Linked DNA regions of Homo sapiens: all the other regions are linked to region 1. The links are contacts of gene promoters, found by promoter capture Hi-C in human tissues and cell types (Jung and others, 2019). All regions are on one chromosome and are shown on one strand. The core of a region is centred on a gene start or on the middle of the fragment in contact, and the rest is flanking DNA. Distances in the headings are between cores, read along the strand shown.

Evidence for each region. Contacts are between HindIII fragments. The study calls those that stand out against the background at their distance.
Region 2: a fragment that was not itself captured here is called in contact with the fragment with the promoter of C10orf67 in region 1 in 1 of the 25 tissues and cell types used here (IMR-90 fibroblasts).
Region 3: a contact is called between a fragment that was not itself captured here and the fragment with the promoter of C10orf67 in region 1, in 1 of the 25 tissues and cell types used here (stomach).
Region 4: a contact is called between a fragment that was not itself captured here and the fragment with the promoter of C10orf67 in region 1, in 1 of the 25 tissues and cell types used here (lymphoblastoid cells).
Region 5: a contact is called between a fragment that was not itself captured here and the fragment with the promoter of C10orf67 in region 1, in 1 of the 25 tissues and cell types used here (mesenchymal stem cells).
Region 6: a fragment that was not itself captured here is called in contact with the fragment with the promoter of C10orf67 in region 1 in 2 of the 25 tissues and cell types used here (dorsolateral prefrontal cortex and mesenchymal stem cells).

Annotation. Positions count from the first base shown.
Region 1 is chr10:23,343,458-23,346,157 of GRCh38, forward strand. It overlaps C10orf67 (chromosome 10 open reading frame 67), which reads right to left and starts at 1,340. Exons shown (of 16, transcript NM_001371909.1): 1 at 1,112-1,340. The coding sequence starts at 1,317. It overlaps C10orf67-AS1 (C10orf67 antisense RNA 1), which reads left to right and starts at 500. Exons shown (of 2, transcript NR_155752.1): 1 at 500-633; 2 at 967-1,704. RefSeq lists a silencer at 2,463-2,700. The HindIII fragment of the contact is 15,239 bases long and covers 1-2,700 here.
Region 2 is chr10:24,443,055-24,445,754 of GRCh38, forward strand. The region is part of intron 5 of KIAA1217; the gene reads left to right. Among named protein-coding and RNA genes, the nearest start is that of MIR603, 170 kb to the left of the region's middle. The HindIII fragment of the contact is 3,473 bases long and covers 1-2,700 here.
Region 3 is chr10:24,622,742-24,625,441 of GRCh38, forward strand. ARHGAP21 (Rho GTPase activating protein 21) reads right to left here. Exons shown (of 26, transcript NM_020824.4): 8 at 1-21. Among named protein-coding and RNA genes, the nearest start is that of ARHGAP21, 100 kb to the right of the region's middle. The HindIII fragment of the contact is 4,722 bases long and covers 1-2,700 here.
Region 4 is chr10:24,685,318-24,688,017 of GRCh38, forward strand. All of the region lies in intron 2 of ARHGAP21 (Rho GTPase activating protein 21), which reads right to left. Among named protein-coding and RNA genes, the nearest start is that of ARHGAP21, 37 kb to the right of the region's middle. The HindIII fragment of the contact is 6,583 bases long and covers 1-2,700 here.
Region 5 is chr10:24,701,203-24,704,011 of GRCh38, forward strand. The region is part of intron 2 of ARHGAP21 (Rho GTPase activating protein 21); the gene reads right to left. Among named protein-coding and RNA genes, the nearest start is that of ARHGAP21, 21 kb to the right of the region's middle. The HindIII fragment of the contact is 5,523 bases long and covers 1-2,809 here.
Region 6 is chr10:24,387,393-24,390,092 of GRCh38, forward strand. The region is part of intron 3 of KIAA1217; the gene reads left to right. Among named protein-coding and RNA genes, the nearest start is that of MIR603, 110 kb to the left of the region's middle. The HindIII fragment of the contact is 6,473 bases long and covers 1-2,700 here.

The DNA of each region.
Region 1 (2,700 bases), core at 90-2,589:
TCCTGTTGCTTATAAGCCACCCAGCCTATGTTGTTTTGTTACAGCAGCCCGAGGGGACTAAGACGGGTACTGTGTCCTAGATTAGCTCATTTAATATTCACTATGATCTATGAAGCAGGCACTACTCTTCATCATTCATGAACGATTATTTCCCGCTGAGAAAACTGAGGCACAGAGCAGTCAGTCGCCTAACTCACGGCCCCTGTGAGAGGGTCGCCAAGATTCTGGAATCCGGGCAGTCTGGCTCCAGAGTCCGTGCTCTTAGTGTCCAGCTATACACTTGAAGAAGTGAAAACTGCAGCTCTTTTCGGACAGTGATCCCCTCGAAAAACAAACAAAAAACTGAAGCCCAGCGGCTGGAGCAAGGGGCCTGGAAAGGCGTTGAGCGAGGGCCGGGGCGCGAGGGCTCCGGGGCGGGCCGGCGGGGACTGCCTCTCCCGCTGGTCACCTGGGGTTGAACTGGAATTGTTCAATAGAGGCCTCGAGGCCCTCCATGATCTTCCGGCCCTCCTCTGTCTCAGGCGAGTCGCCCCAGTTCGCCATTGCAGCCCCGGACGTGCGCCTCCCGCGGAGCCGCTCGCTCTCCTGAGTCGGAGTCGGGAACCCGGCGTCCGTTGCCATGGCGACTCCCAGGTAACCGGCGAAGCGCGGGAATCCGTGGGCGGGGGCCGGGGAGGGCCGCGAGTGGAGGGGGGTGGGGAACGGGGTGGGGAGGGGAAGGGGGAAGGAGATGGGGAGGAGGGGGATAGGGAGAAGGTTGGGGATGGGGGGGAAGGGGAGAGGGAAAGGAAGTAGAGGAGGTGTGGAGGGAAGGAAGAGGGGGAAGGAGTGGGGGAAGGGGGAAGAGATGGAAAGGAGGATGGGGAGGGAGCACGCGCGGGAGGAGGGGAGTGGAGAGGGGGAGGAGGAGGCGGGGCGGGCTCCCAAGCCACCCCGCTGCGCTTTCACTGTCCCGCCTGCCTCAAGGCTTCCCCACAAGACTCCCACAGCCTGGAGGCTGCTGCGATACCCCAGAGGAAAGCTGCACCCCCGTAAATAACCCTTCAGCCTCCCGCCGTGCCCCTGGACCCTGCTCGCTTCCTCCTCTACCCAGGCGCGGAGCTCAGCCTACCTCGTGGACCCGCGCATTTGCGGGGGCTTGAATTCCCGAGCTTCTCGCTTCCTACGCGCGCAGCAGACCCGCAGCTCGGTGGCCTTGGCTTTCATGGCCTCCCAGCGTGTGCCAAAGGTCCCCCTCAAGGAGGAGGAAAAGCAGTGAACCCATCTAATAACTATGCTCATGACATAATGAGCCCTGCGATCCCGGACCAAGGCCATCATAAGAGGAGAGCAGGCTGCCTAATAAGCTGTCTCCACCTGCCACAAACGTAGGCGTTCCTGGACAAAATATTTCCTTGCAGAGATTAAACAGATTTCTATTTAATGAGGTCAGAATGTGAGGCGTTAAGTCTTAAACTATACCATCTAGTGTGGAATTCAATTTTACCAGGTTTCTACAATAATAAGAGTTAATAGTGAAACTGTTGTCATCCTTAGTTTTAAATTATGTATCACTCATTGTCAACTAATAGGAGACACCTATTCTAATATCAGTATGTCATTGTTTTTCTGTAAACGACTGGCTAAATTTATTTTTAAAATGTCATTGTCTGGTTTAGAACTGTCTATACTACATCTGCATTTCAATATATTATCTACAGAAAAATAAGTTTTTTCTCCTCTCTCTTATTATTATTATTATTATTTTTTGGAGCCGGAGTCTCGCTCTGTCGCCCAGGCTGGGGTGCAGTGGCGCGATCTGGGCTCACTGCAACCTCCGCCTCCCGGGTTCAAGCAATTCTCCTGCTTCAGCCTCCCGAGCAGCTGGGACTACAGGCACACAGCACCAAGCCAGGCTAATTTTTTGTATTTTTAGTAGAGACGGGGTTTCACCGCGTTGTGCAGGCTAGTCTAACTCCTGAGCTCAGGCAATCTGCCCCCCTCGGCCTCCCAAAGTGCTAGATAACAGGCGTGAGCCACAGAGCCCGGCCTCTTCTCTGTCTTGTAACAGTAAGTGAAAATAACTTAGCTGGATTTAGAAGCTCAAAACAGGAAAAGAAAAGCACTGTAGCATTATCACTACTATTATGTTTAAAGACAAAGATTAAAAGCCCCAAATGCCAATAAAACATCATAACCAATGCCAAAATCATCTTCTGTGAAGGCTTATTTTTTGGGGGGGAGATGAAGAGAGAAGAGAAAAAGAGTTACTTTTACTCTTTGGAGGTTTTTAATTACAAACTCTAACTTCAGACTTTATTTGGGGAATTTTTATTATATAATCAAAAGGTATTTTAAAAGAAAGAAATTTATATATCTACAATAACTTTTCTTTTTCCTAAGTGATATTTTACCACAATGTATATACATGTTTTAAAATAAAGATTAAAATTTTAAGTTAAAATTTCAAAACCTATCTGTTTAGAGCTGGGCCAAGACAGTGTAAAGAATGTGACAAGCTGTTGGCTATTTTCCTAGTGCAATTATAAATGAATCGTTTGAAACTGAGGAGAGAGATCGCACAGAAGATTTCATGAGTCATTGGTCAGCTCTGTACAGCATTTGTTGACTGATATAGTCTGCATAGTTACGCCATCCCACAAAAACATGCATTGAACAGAACATCTTTGTTTGAAACCTTGCTATAGCATATCAAGGAGT
Region 2 (2,700 bases), core at 128-2,627, 1.1 Mb after region 1:
CATGCACCACTATACCTGGCTAATTTTTGTATTTTTAGAAGAAATGGGATTTTGCCATGTTGGCCAGGCTGGTCTCAAACTCCTGACCTCAGGTGATCCACCTGCCTCAGCCTCTCAAATTACAGGCGTGGGCTACTGCGCCTGGACAGTAATGTTAATTATTTAATCCTCAAGATAAACTTTTGAGCCAGGTCTTGGTATAAGCCCCCCTGTTTACAGATGATGAGACAGCTCCTTATGTTAAGAGATTTCCCCAAGGCCACACAGCCAGAGAGTAGCAGAACAGAGATTTAAACCCAGGCACCGTGGCTGCTGAAATTATAGCCTTCATTATCTCTCTACTGAATCACCTAACAGTTCTTACTTCCCACATCTCATTCTCCTGTTCTCTTTTTCCAAGTGTCTCAAATTCACTCTCCCTCTCTACATATCTGCCTTTCAAAATTCTACTCATCTAACATATTCCAGAACAATTGTCTAATTCCTTCAGCAAATTGCAGTCATGAAAAAAAAGTGGGGGAGGGAGCACAGTTAAGTTTCTCGGGGGTCTTCTGTACCATAATAACAAAATGTGGCCTGTGCACCATCTTCAGATTTTGAGAAGAACAAAGCAACTGTAAAAGACATCTTTAAAACTATTTGGGAAATTTGAACATGTGTTAGGAATCAGGAGATATTAAGGGATAGCTGGTAATTCTGTTAGGCATAATAATAGGTTAGTGGTTATGTTTTAAAAGATGGAACATACTAAAGTGTTTACAGGTTAAATGACATGAAAAATGGGACTTGCTTTAAAATACTGCAGCAAACCAAGAAAACAAAAAGGTGGAAGTAGATGAAACAAAATGGTAAAATGTTGAAAAATGTCAAAGCTGGATGATGGGGGTACCTTTTATTGTTTTCTCTACTTTTTTGTGTTTGAAAATTTTCATAATAAAATCTGTTTGTTTTCTTTTCTTTTCTTTTCTTTTTTCTGAGACAGAGTCTCACTCTGTCACCGGGCTGGAGTGCAGTGGTGCGATCTCAGCTCACTGCAACCTCTGCCTCCCGTGTTCAAGCAATTCTCCTCCCTTAGCCTCTTGAGTAGCCGGGACTACAGGTGCACACCACCACTCTTGGCACATTTTTGTATTTTTTACTAGAGACGGGGTTTCACCACGTTGACCAGGCTGGTCTCGAACTCCTGACCTCAGGTGATCCACCCGCCTCGGCCTCCTAAAGTGCTGGATTTACAGGCGTGAGCCACCATGCCCAGCCCATAATAAAATCTTTTACAAAATAATAAAAACTTGTTTTTAGAGCCCAAATAAAAGACTTCCTACCCCAGGAAGCTTTCGCTAATGCTCTGTCAGAATTCATCTTTCCCTTTTGGGGGCCTGTTGCACATTCGCATTGTGTTATAATCATTTAGCTGTGTGTTCATCTCATGCAAAAGACTGTACACTCTTCAAAGCCACAAGCCATATTATGTGATGATTCATCTTCACGTCCCTCCAAAAACCAGTCATGGCATCTTAACCCCTGGTGAGTGCAGAGTAAACACACTTGTTAAACAGGATGCGCTGAGTGTCCTACTGATGGTCCTACAAATGCCATATTATTCATTTTCTATCATTAATGAGGACCCACTGTAAAAATATCTCTCTGTTCTCATCACCAGAAATAGTTGTGCTTCTCCTGGTTTATTTTTATCATATGGACACTTTGAGTCTTGTAAGTGATCATTTTCCCTCTTTGTGTTGCTACTCTAAAGCTTAGAATTAAATTTGTGGCCCACCCACAGCAAGGGTACAGGCATTTGTGGCGTGTGTTTTGTGTGTTGGCTTCATTCCTGGACTCTCTTTTTAATTTTCCTACTTTCATCTTCCTTTGGTTGCACATTCTACTTTGACTTCTTTTTTCTGTAAAACTGTAAAAATGTATAGGAACTCTATTAATTTCTTGGTGCAATCTATCAGGATATAAATAGTATTCATTCTCTACCATCGTTGTTCTAGATAGAAGATAGCAAACCTTTTTGTGTCTGCAGAGTAGGCAGTGTGTTAAGTACTTTACATATTATTTAAATTAGTCAGTAACTCTGGCAAAGTGGGTATACTGACTTCGTTTTCACAGGTGATAAAACTGAAGCCAAAGAGGTCTTTCCCAAGCTCACACATCTGATCAATGTTGGACACTGGATTTGAACTTGTTTCTGCTTGTTTATACACAGCCCACAGCCTCCCTTCCTTGATATTTCCATTTAAGTTTTGCAATTTTGAAGTGATGTTCCTACTAAGACTTTAGAACAAACAAAATATGCTTTATTAAACATTTGTTTCATTTCTGTTTTTAATTATTATTATACTTTAAGTTTTAGGGTACATGTGCACAACGTGCAGGTTTGTTACATATGTATACATGTGCCATGTTGGTGTGCTGCACCCATTAACTCATCATTTAGCATTAGGTATATCCTAATGCTATCCCTCCCCCCTCCCCCCACCCCACAACAGTCCCTGGTGTGTGATGTTCCCCTTCCTGTGTCCATGTGTTCTCATTCTTCAATTCCCACCTATAAGTGAGAACATGCGGTCTTTGGTTTTTTGTCCTTGCGATAGTTTGCTGAGAATGATGGTTTCCAGCTTCATCCATGTCCCTACAAAGGACATGAACTCATCATTTTTTATGGCTGCATAGTATTCCATGGTGTATATGTGC
Region 3 (2,700 bases), core at 192-2,691, 1.3 Mb after region 1:
GACATCCTTTGTAAACTGTAGCTAGCAGAAAATAGGAAAACATAGTAGAAGCTGCTTACTGATATAAAGACAAAATCATGTTGTCATATTGATGCTGGAAACGGCAAGCTAAAAATACATCTATACTTGTTTCTCTGGAAGGTACCAAGAGAGGTAAAGGGCAGTGAAGCATAAAGAATAACTCCAGTATTCTTCTGAACATCTTTTTCTCAGGCTTTTATCTGATTCTTGTTTGATGTGTCTACCATTCTTGAAAGCAAAATACATCTGGTGACATGCATTCCTAACAGATATTTTCTTCAATATGCACTGCTGTCTGATAACATGCTACAAAGCTTCCCTCCACGAAAGCAACAGTGATGTCTCTCATTTCCCCCCAGCTTCTTCCATCTCTGCTTCCAGATGACGAAACGAATGCTCTATTATGCATTTAAAATAGTACAACCTCCTCCTTCCCCAGTAAATCAGAGCATAACCACAAGCTGTCAGCAGACTGCAGCTGCCTTTACACTAAGATTCAGGGGGGAAAATGACTTCTTTTAAGTAAGTTTCACTCAAAAATTAAGATCTTTCAACACTGTGCCTTTTGTACTATTGTATTAGTTTGCAAAAATAACTACTGGATAGACATAAAAATATTACTTCCAGAGTAATTCTTGTTAACCTATAATAAATATTATAGAACAGAGACTAGAATGCAGTGACAAATTAAAGCTAGCCATATAAAATAAAATATGTCTACATAGTATTTTTATGGCATGAATACAGTTAATCCCAACATGCATTTTGGGTGTGTGCATTGACACACCAAGTCTATCTTTTCCATGCTGATTAGAATCATACCAATACTTTTCTGCAATAGGAAAATTGTGTCTGGATGAGAGAATACTGTACTGTCTGGTACAGCATTTCCCACAACATCCTTGTGTAGTTTTATTATATACCACCTGAAAAGGAGGATGGGGGAGAGGAGGTCCCTATGGTCAATGATGTAGGGCCACTTGGCAAGCTTTTTGATTTCTCAAAACCACGACGACACTAATGTACATTGTGAAATTCGAAAGGAAAATATAAACTTATTCACCATGGAGGCCATTTTTTTCCCAGAGGTTTTAACATAATTAGAATATCTACTTGGGTAATGCTATTCTAGAACTAATATTTTAAAGATGACTCCTTTATTCAAATTTGGGAAGAAATATTACTGTTTAGTAATAGAAGTATACGGCTGGAACTATTAAAACTTGAGAATATTTTACATACTTCAGACATCTCTAATATTCCTGTATGGCAATTCTAAATGCTAAATAGTCTACATTACAGTCACAGGTCCCCACTTCTGAGTTAAGTTATCACAAGGGGCCCTGAAATCCATACAAATGCAGGCATTAACAGTGAACATCTCACACATGCAGTACTATTATCTAATGTAAGCAGATATGGTTGAGATAAAATATGAATTCATTCAAGAACATTTTTCACAAAATGTACATTGTGAAACTCAAAAGTACAAACTTACTCGCCAGGGAACCCATTTTTTTCCCCAGAGATTTTAAAATAATTAGAATATCTGCCTGGGAAATGCTGTTCTAGAACTTTTTTTTTTTTTTTTTTTTGAGACCGAGTCTCACTCTGTTGCCCAGGCTGGAGTGCAGTGGCGCAATCTTGGCTCACTGCAACCTGTGCCTCCCAGGTTCAAGCAATTCTCCTGCCTCAGCCTCCTGAGTAGCTGGGATTACAGGCATGAGCCACCATGCTCAGCTAATTTTTGTATTTTTAATGGAGGTGGGGTTTCACTATGTTCGCCAGGTTGGTCTCGAACTCCTGACCTCAAGTGATCCACCTGCCTCGGACTCCCAAAGTGCCAGGATTACAGGTGTGAACCACCGAGCCCGGGTAGAACTAATATTTTAAAGCTATCTCCTTTATTCAAATTTGGGGAGGAATATTATTTTTGAAACCAATGTCATAAGAATTACATATTCAGTATTAACAATTTTGAATTTTAGTTAGGCTTTAAGCCCAAATGGATACTTTACAACATATGAAAGTGTTTTGATAGAATCAGACAACATTTAAATTTTTCCCAATTTACTAGCTCTTGTGAATTCAACAGAATATGACAAAACATTTTTAGCCATTTTTTCCACTCAGCCTTTTTGTATACCACTTCACATTCCTTCTTGAGCTTTCTTTACCCTTGTACTTAAGTATTACACCTTTTGGAGTTTAACAGCTTGTATTTTAAAAACTGAAGCCTTCCCTAACAGCCCTGTTTTGCCTATTAGATACAAAAAGCTCTAAAAAGTGGGGGGGGGGGGGGAGGAGGAGGAGGAAGAAAATAAGAAAGATGACCCAAAGAATTCTTTCTTTGTAATTAGAACTCCAAACAGTATGTTAAATACAACTTAATATTAACAGCCTGGATCTTGATTATATGTACAATGCCTAATAGTAACTAAATAACCCTAAAATAATCTCTAGTTCATTTTTTATACAGTCACATCAAAATCACCATGACCATACCTATGATAAATGGTAAACAAAATGAAACAGAGAAAAAAAAAAAAAAAAAAAAAAAACCTGAAGAATAAATAAGGTGGTAAGATTAAAATTCCTGCCTTTCAGTTCACCTTTAACAGGTTATTAATTTAATGCCTTTACCTATGATAAAAGCAAGAGTAACTTCATGTTTGTTGG
Region 4 (2,700 bases), core at 96-2,595, 1.3 Mb after region 1:
AGAGCATCCAATCAATATAGATATTAGCAGTTTATAGTGTCATAAGCATTTGGCCCCTACTCTCAAAGCCTAACTAGCTCTATTAAGCATTTATAATCAGTTACCTTTTAAGCATGTCTACCAAAATCAAAGATCACGATTTTATTTACATTCCTGATTTGCTGTTAACTTCCCAAAGAGTATCTACCAGTCATAAAGATACAATGAGATTATCATTTAGTGCAACAAACCTCTTTCTTTTCTAAATATAATACCGTATTGATAGAATTGTCTTCTTGGCTGGTGCAGTGGCTCACACCTGTAATCCCAGCACTTTGGGAGGCCGAGGTGGGCGGATCACTTGAGGTCAGGAGTTCAAGATCAGCCTGGCCAACATGGTAAAACCCCGTCTCTACTAGAAATACAAAAATTTGTCAGGCATGGTGGCAGACGCCAGTAATCCCAGCTACTCAGGAGGCTGAGGCAGGAGAATCGCTTGAACCTGGGAAGTGGAGGTTGCAGTGAGCCAAGATCGCACCACTGCACTCCAGTTTAGTTAACCCACTCACTAACATTATTTTCAATAAGGAGAGGACACTGAAGAAAAGATATTAAGCTAAAACAAATCAAGAAAAACATGGTACCACACTGTTAAGATGAAATCAAATGGGAATTCACATATACTTCACTGGAAGTACAATCTTCCTATAAACCTACTTGGCAATATCTACTAAGAAACTTCAATTTTATACTTGTTAAGCTAGTAAATAATGAAATAAGAGATAAGGGCAAAAAGACAGATTACAAGCTATTCATTCCAAGGTATAAATAACTCAAATTGGAAACTACTTAGGCCGGACATGGTGAGTCATGCCTGTAATCCCAGCACTTTGGGAAGCCGAGGCAAGAGGACTGCTTGAGCCCAGGAGTTGAAACCAGCTGTGTAACATGATGAGGCCCTGTCTCTACAAAAAATTTAAAAATCAGCCAGACATAGTAGCATGCATCTGTGGTCCAAGCTACATGGGAGGCTAAGGCAGGTGGATCCCTTGAGCCCAAGAGGTCAAGGCTGCAGTGAGCCGAGATGGCGCCACACACTCCAGCCTGGGCAACAGAGTGAGACCCTATCTCAAATAAATAAATAAATAAATAAAAATAAAGATAAATAAACTCAAACTGGAAACTATGTTGTCTAACAACAACAAAAAAGAATAGTAAGTAAATTATGATACAGCTCCTAAAGTCATGACTGTGAACATTTTTCAATGGCATGAGAAAATGCCCAAAATATAATGTTAAGCAAAAATATAAAACTCCCCAATATGATCAAAATTATTTTAATCACATACACACTTTTTGGAATTAGGAGCTGTTTAAATTTTTTCCTGAACGATTCATGGATTTTCCATAATGAACATGCACGCAAGCAGTTGTTACCTTTCACATCCAGTTGCAATATTGGGCGGCACATCCCTGCAGATGAGTTATGACTGTTTTCACATGTTTCCCGTGTACTAACTGAATAAACTATTCCTTTCTCAGCACCAAAGTGCCTTACAGCAGAACTTCCCGATCAGTGTACTTTAAGGCTTAAAAGCAGTTTCTAAGCCAGGTGAGGTGACTCACATCCATAATCCCAGCACTTTGGGAGACTGAGGCAGGCAATGGTTTGAGCCCAGAAGTTCACCTGCTACTTCCAGGAGAGCAAGGGCAACCTGATACCAACCTGGCCAACATGGTGAAACCCCATTTCTACAAAAAATACAAAATTTAGCCAGGTGTGGTGGTGCATGCCTGTAGTCCAAGCTACTCAGGAGGCTGAGGTGGGAGGGTGAGCCCATGAGGTCTGGGTGATGGAGACCCTGTCTCAAAGAAAAAAAAAGGCAGTTTCCCAGGCCCTCTACTGTAGAGAGTACCTTTACTGTAGGACTTACTAACCATATTATAATTGCTTGTTCATACATCTATCTCTTTAATCACAGAGCAGCTTCCTGACAAGATGCCCAAGTCTTACTCTAGTGCCCAACACAAAACCTGACAGAAAGCAGGACCTCAAAAATGAATGAAATTTATACGAAATGAGTAAAGTTTACATAAAACAAAGATAATAGAAAATGAAGACTTTAAAACATTGTTGGGGAATTGTTCTTATTTCCTTATTTCTCCATTTTCCTCATTTGAGGCAGTGAGTGCATATAGCACATTTCACAACAACTAGACAAAACCAGAGAAACAGACATAAACTCAAATACAGATATGCCTATTTTTACACATTTTCTTGTAAAGAAGTTTTACCAAATAGAGATATTTTCAAAAGCTACTTTATGATATGAATAAAATCTTGTTTACTCTGAATCAAGGAACAGATTGCATTTCTGTGGTTAAAAACAATTACTTCCCTTCCCTTTGGGTAGACAGGAATCACCAAATTAAAAGTCGAGCTTAAATTTCAGTTCATCTTAGCTACCAATGAAATAATGCAATCCCCTTTGAGCAGATACCAGCAATACCAAGCACGAATATAGGCTACGGAAGAAAAAGCTACAGACGGTCAGACACATATCATGTGGTTTCACTATTTTGCTTGATGAGCTATGATTATCTTGACTATGATTATCAGAAACTCATCTTATTAAATGTATGTATAAATAAGTTTTTATAATGTAAGTTAATTTTGAGTTATCAGTAATACTATATCAGCAACCAATGTTAATGGTGAAC
Region 5 (2,809 bases), core at 305-2,804, 1.4 Mb after region 1:
CAGCCTCTCTTTCCCTCTTCCATTTGGTTTCCCCAGGGAGAGAGGGAACTTCACTAAGCTTGAGGCCTCTTTGGTGTGGGTATCTCCTTGTCGTTTCCAGTTCGAAGGATCCAATCTAGGATTCCTCCGGCTCTTCTTTCCTGAAATGGACTTATACAAAATGAGATTTCCATTAAATAATAAAAATTTCCAATCATTTTACAACCTTCTTTCAAAGAAAAAAAAAAGTGCCTTCTTTAATGGCATGATTGTTTTTCCCTTTGTAATATCTTAAATTGGAACAGAACATTTCTCTGAGAAGGGAACATGTGAATAGAACCCTAAAGAAAGCAAAGCAGCAGGCTATGCAGAGATCTGAAATGAAAGTATTTCAGGAAGTGGGAACGGTGAGTGCAAAGGCCCTGAGATGAACAGCAAAGGAGGCCAGTGTGGTTAGAGAAGAATGACTAGGGTTTGAAAAGGAAGTAGAAACAGGGTACTGGAGATAATGAAAGAAGGGAACAAAATCTCTTCAGGCCCTTGGCTTTTATGCTAATATGGGCAGCCTCTGGTGGACTCTGGTAGAATACCATGTTCATGTTCTGATGTTTAAAATGATCATACTCGATGCTGAGCTGAAAACAGACCGCAGGCTGTATACAAGTATCTACAGAAGTGATAATGCCAGGATCTCCCATGCTTGATGCTCCCCAGTATTCCTTCTGAGTTCCCTATGTATGTGGCTGTGTAATAACAGCTGTCATTGGACTTGAAGGAAACCAAGAACTGGGATTATGTGATATGCCATATATATGAAACCTTAATGCACAACTTCTTGTATCTGGCTCCATTATTACCAAACATTCAACCCCTATTTCTAAACACTGATTAGAACATTTGAAATTTATCACACACCTTGGTGAGGGGGAGAAAATACTTCCGGTTCTTTTTTTTTTTTTTTTTTTTTGAGACGGAGTCTTGCTCTGTCGTCCAGTCTGGAGTGCAGTGGCGCGATCTCGGCTCACTGCAAGTTCCATTTCCCGGGTTCACGCCATTCTCCTGCCTCAGCCTTCTGAGTAGCTGGGACTACAGGCACCCGCCATCACGCCTGGCTAATTTTTTTGTATTTTTAGTAGAGACGGGGTTTCACCGTGTTAGCCAGGATGGTCTCGATCTCCTGACCTCGTGATCCGCCTGCCTCAGCCTCCCAAAGTGCTAGGATTACAGGCGTGAGCCACCACGCCTGGCCAATACCTCCATTCTTAATTGTGGTATGGGAATAACCAGTATTGTAATCTACAACTTTTTAAAATTCACTCATCTGTCAAGAAGCCCAAGAACAATCACCTCTCTAAGATCTTCAGAATACAAAAAATGTATTGTTTTAAGGTTTTTTTTTTGGTTTTTTGTTTTTTGGTTTTTTGAGACAAGGTCTTGCTCTGTCACCCAGGCTGGAGTGCAGTGGCAGAATCTCGGTTCACTGCAACCTCCACTTCCCCGGCTCAAGCAATTGCCCCACCTCAGCCTCCCAAATATCTGGGACTACAGGTGTGCACTACTATACTCAGCTAATTGTTTTGTAAAGATGAGGTCTCACTATATTGCCCAGGCTGTTATTAAAGTTATATCCTAAAAATAGTGTCACTATGACCCAGTAATTTCACCTCTAAGACTGTATCCTATGAAAATAATCCTGAACAGGAAACAGTTTAAAACACAAAGATATTCACCACACATTATAAGAGCAGAACACTGGAAGCAATTTAAATGTTCAACAGATAAATGGTTTCAATATATATACACACACACATAATACATAGTTTATATTATAGTGTATAATATTATACACTGTACTTTACACTCTATATTATATAGGCATTGAAAATGATGTCCTAAAATGGAAAAGTGTACATAATATTCCAACTTGTAAAACCCACACACAAACTAGACACACTGGGTGAAAAAAAATGGCAGTATCAATATATTAACAGGAGTTGAATTTGAAGGATTTAATTAAGTAAACCAATTTTAATTTTCCAGTTTTTACAAGTGACCATGCATTTGTAATTTTTAAAATTAAATTAATGGATTTTTTACTACCATCTCTTTACTTTTAATGTAAATCTCATATAACATCACCTATACCAACTTAGAATACGCTAATAATAATTGTAAGCATGTATTAAGCACTCAACACGCCAGCACTATGTTAAATGCTATATCCAGGTTATCTCATTTTAAACTTCACAACAATCCCTGATGTTGGTACTGTCAGAGAGGAGAAGGCAAGTAACACTCAAGCCATACCACTGCCACAGAGCCAGGAACAACTCCAGGCCTTGAATTCAGTTCTTGGGCACTAAACTCTGCACTTTCAACTATAACACTATACTGCCTCCATACAACAGTGGTAATATTTAATAAGTAATGTTACCTTGCAGAATTCTCAGTATGCAACCTGAGAAACATGATGGCCACTCTCCCACTTCCCATGGTATCATTTCTTTTGTCTGTCTCCTTCAGTTGTTCTCCTTCCTTCCCATCCTGCCTTTTCTGCGACTTGTTTTCTCTCACCCATACTTCTTTCCGACCTATACCATAAGCTTTCCAAGGGTATCCGGCAGCATCCTTGATTACTGCTTAGCTTCAACGGTGAAACTCAAAGAAACCAAGTGCTGTCCTAAGTATTCCTATAAACAAGAGGTTACACACTAAAAGCCTAGAGCCACATCTGGTCAGCAGATGTATTTTGCTTAGATCTCACTATTTTGAAAACCTTGAATTAGTCATCAACATTTAAAAATTAGGACACGTTAACATGAAAATTCAA
Region 6 (2,700 bases), core at 140-2,639, 1.0 Mb after region 1:
GGGACATATCTCAAAATAATAAGAGCTACTTATGACAAACCCACAGCCAATATCATACTGAATGGGCAAAAACTGGAAGCATTCCCTTTGAAAACTGGTAGAAGACAGGGATGCCCTTTCTCACTACTCCTATTCAACATAGTGTTGGAAGTTCTGGCCAGGGCAATCAGGCAAGAGAAAGAAATAAAGGGTATTCAATTAGGAAAAGAGGAAGTCAAATTCTCCCTGTTTGCAGGTGACATGACTGTATATTTAAAAACCCCCGTTGTCTCAGCCCAAAATCTCCTTAAGCTGATAAGCAACTTCAGCAAAGTCTCAGGATACAAAATCAATGTGCAAAAATCACAAGCATTCCTATACACCAATAACAGACAAACAGAGAGCCAAATCATGAGTGAACTCCCATTCACAATTGCTTCAAAGAGAATAAAATACCTAGGAATCCAACTTACAAGGGATGTGAAGGACCTCTTCAAGGAGAACTACAAACCACTTCTCAACGAAATAAAAGAGGACACAAACAAATGGAAGAACATTCCATGCTCATGGATAGGAAGAGTCAATATTGTGAAAATGGCCATACTGCCCAAGGTAATTTATAGATTCAATGCCATCCCCATCAAGCTACCAATGACTTTCTTCACAGAATTGGAAAAGACTACTTTAAAGTTCATATGGAACCAAAAAAGAGGCTGTATAGCCAAGACAATCCTAAGCCAAAAGAACAAAGCTGGAGGCATCACACTACCTGACTTCAAACTATACTACAAGGCTACAGTAACCAAAACAGCATGGTACTGGTACCAAAACAGAGATACAGACCAATGGAACAGAACAGAGCCCTCAGAAATAATACCACACATCTACAACTGTCTGATCTTTGACAAACCTGACAAAAACAAGCAATGGGGAAAGGATTCCCTATTTATTTAATAAATGGTGCCGGGAAAACTGGCTAGCCATATGTGGAAAGCTGAAACTGGATCCCTTCCTTACAGCTTATACAAAAATTAATTCAAGATGAATTAAAGGCTTAAATGTTAGACCTAAAACCGCAAAAACCCTAGAAGAAAACCTAGGCAATACCATTCAGGACAGAGGCATGGGCAAAGACTTCATGACTAAAACACCAAAAGCAATGGCAACAAAAGCCAAAATTGACAAATGGGATCTAATTAAACTAAAGAGCTTCTGTACAGCAAAAGAAACTACCATCAGAGTGAACAGGCAACCTACAGAATGGGAGAAAATTTTTACAATCTACCCACCTGACAAAGGGCTAATATCCAGAATCTACAAAGAACTTAAACAAATTTACAAGAAAAAATCAAACTCTTCAACAAGCGGGCGAAGGATATGAACAGACACTTCTCAAAAGAAGACATTTATGCATCCAACAGACACATGAAAAAATGCTCATCATCACTGGTCATCAGAGAAATGCAAATCAATCCACAATGAGATACCATCTCACACCAGTTAGAATGGCGATCATTAAAAAGTCAGGAAACGACATGTGCTGGAGAGGATGTGGAGAAATAGGAACACTTTTACACTGTTGGTGGGACTGTAAACTAGTTCAACCATTGTGGAAGACAGTGTGGTGATTCCTCAAGGATCTAGAACTAGAAATAGCATTTGACCCAACCATCCCATTACTGGGCATATATCCAAAGGATTATAAATCATGCTGCTATAAACACACACACGTACGTTTATTGCAGCACTATTCACAATAGCAAAGACTTGGAACCAGCCCAAACGTCCATCAATGATAGACTGGATTAAGAAAATGTGGCACATATACACCATGTAATACTATGTAGCCATAAAAAAGGATGAGTTCATGTCCTTTGTAGGGACATGGATGAAGCTGGAAACCATCATTCTCAGCAAACTATCGCAAGGACAGAAAACCAAACACCACATGTTCTCACTCATAGGTGGGAATTGAACAATGAGAACACTTGGACACAGGGTGGGGAATATCACACACTGGGGCCTGTGGTGGGGTGGGGGAATGGGGGAGGGATAGCATTAGGAGATATACCTAATGTAAATGATGAGTTAATGGGTGTAGCACACCAACATGGCACATGTATACATATGTAACAAACCTGCACGTTGTGTACATGTACCCTAGAACTTAAAGTATAATAAAAAAAAAAAAGAAAGAAAGAAAATACAACAACAACCACAACAACAAAATGTCAGAGCATTCTCTCTAGCATCAGAACCAGCGCCCTGGCCTAAGTAGCTGGGAGTGGGTGGTTAGGGTGTCTGGCTGGAATCACCCATACCAGTCTCTTCCTAGTGCACCTGCTGCTACCACTGAGGCTGGAAAGCAGATTCTTTCTGGAATATCCAATGTGCTGGGTTCTGGAAGGTGAGAAGCAAGGCAGTTGTGGAGACTTGGGTTTTTTGTTTTGTTTTGTTTTGTTTTTTTTCAGCATTATTTGCCAAGCTCCCAGGGCACGGCCACCAGCTTGATCGGGTTGAGACTGCTGGGGCAGGCATCCATCTCTAGTACTGAAGTGAAGGTGAGGCCCAACTCTGCATCTGTGCTGGCAGCTTCCAATCAAGGCAGCATGGCTTTGGAATCACACCTGACCAGAGTTTAAGGAAGCTTCCTCTTTACCAAACCAGGTCTATAGTCACCCAGTTTTACTGTGAAGATTCAGCCCAGTGATTCTGCAAGCC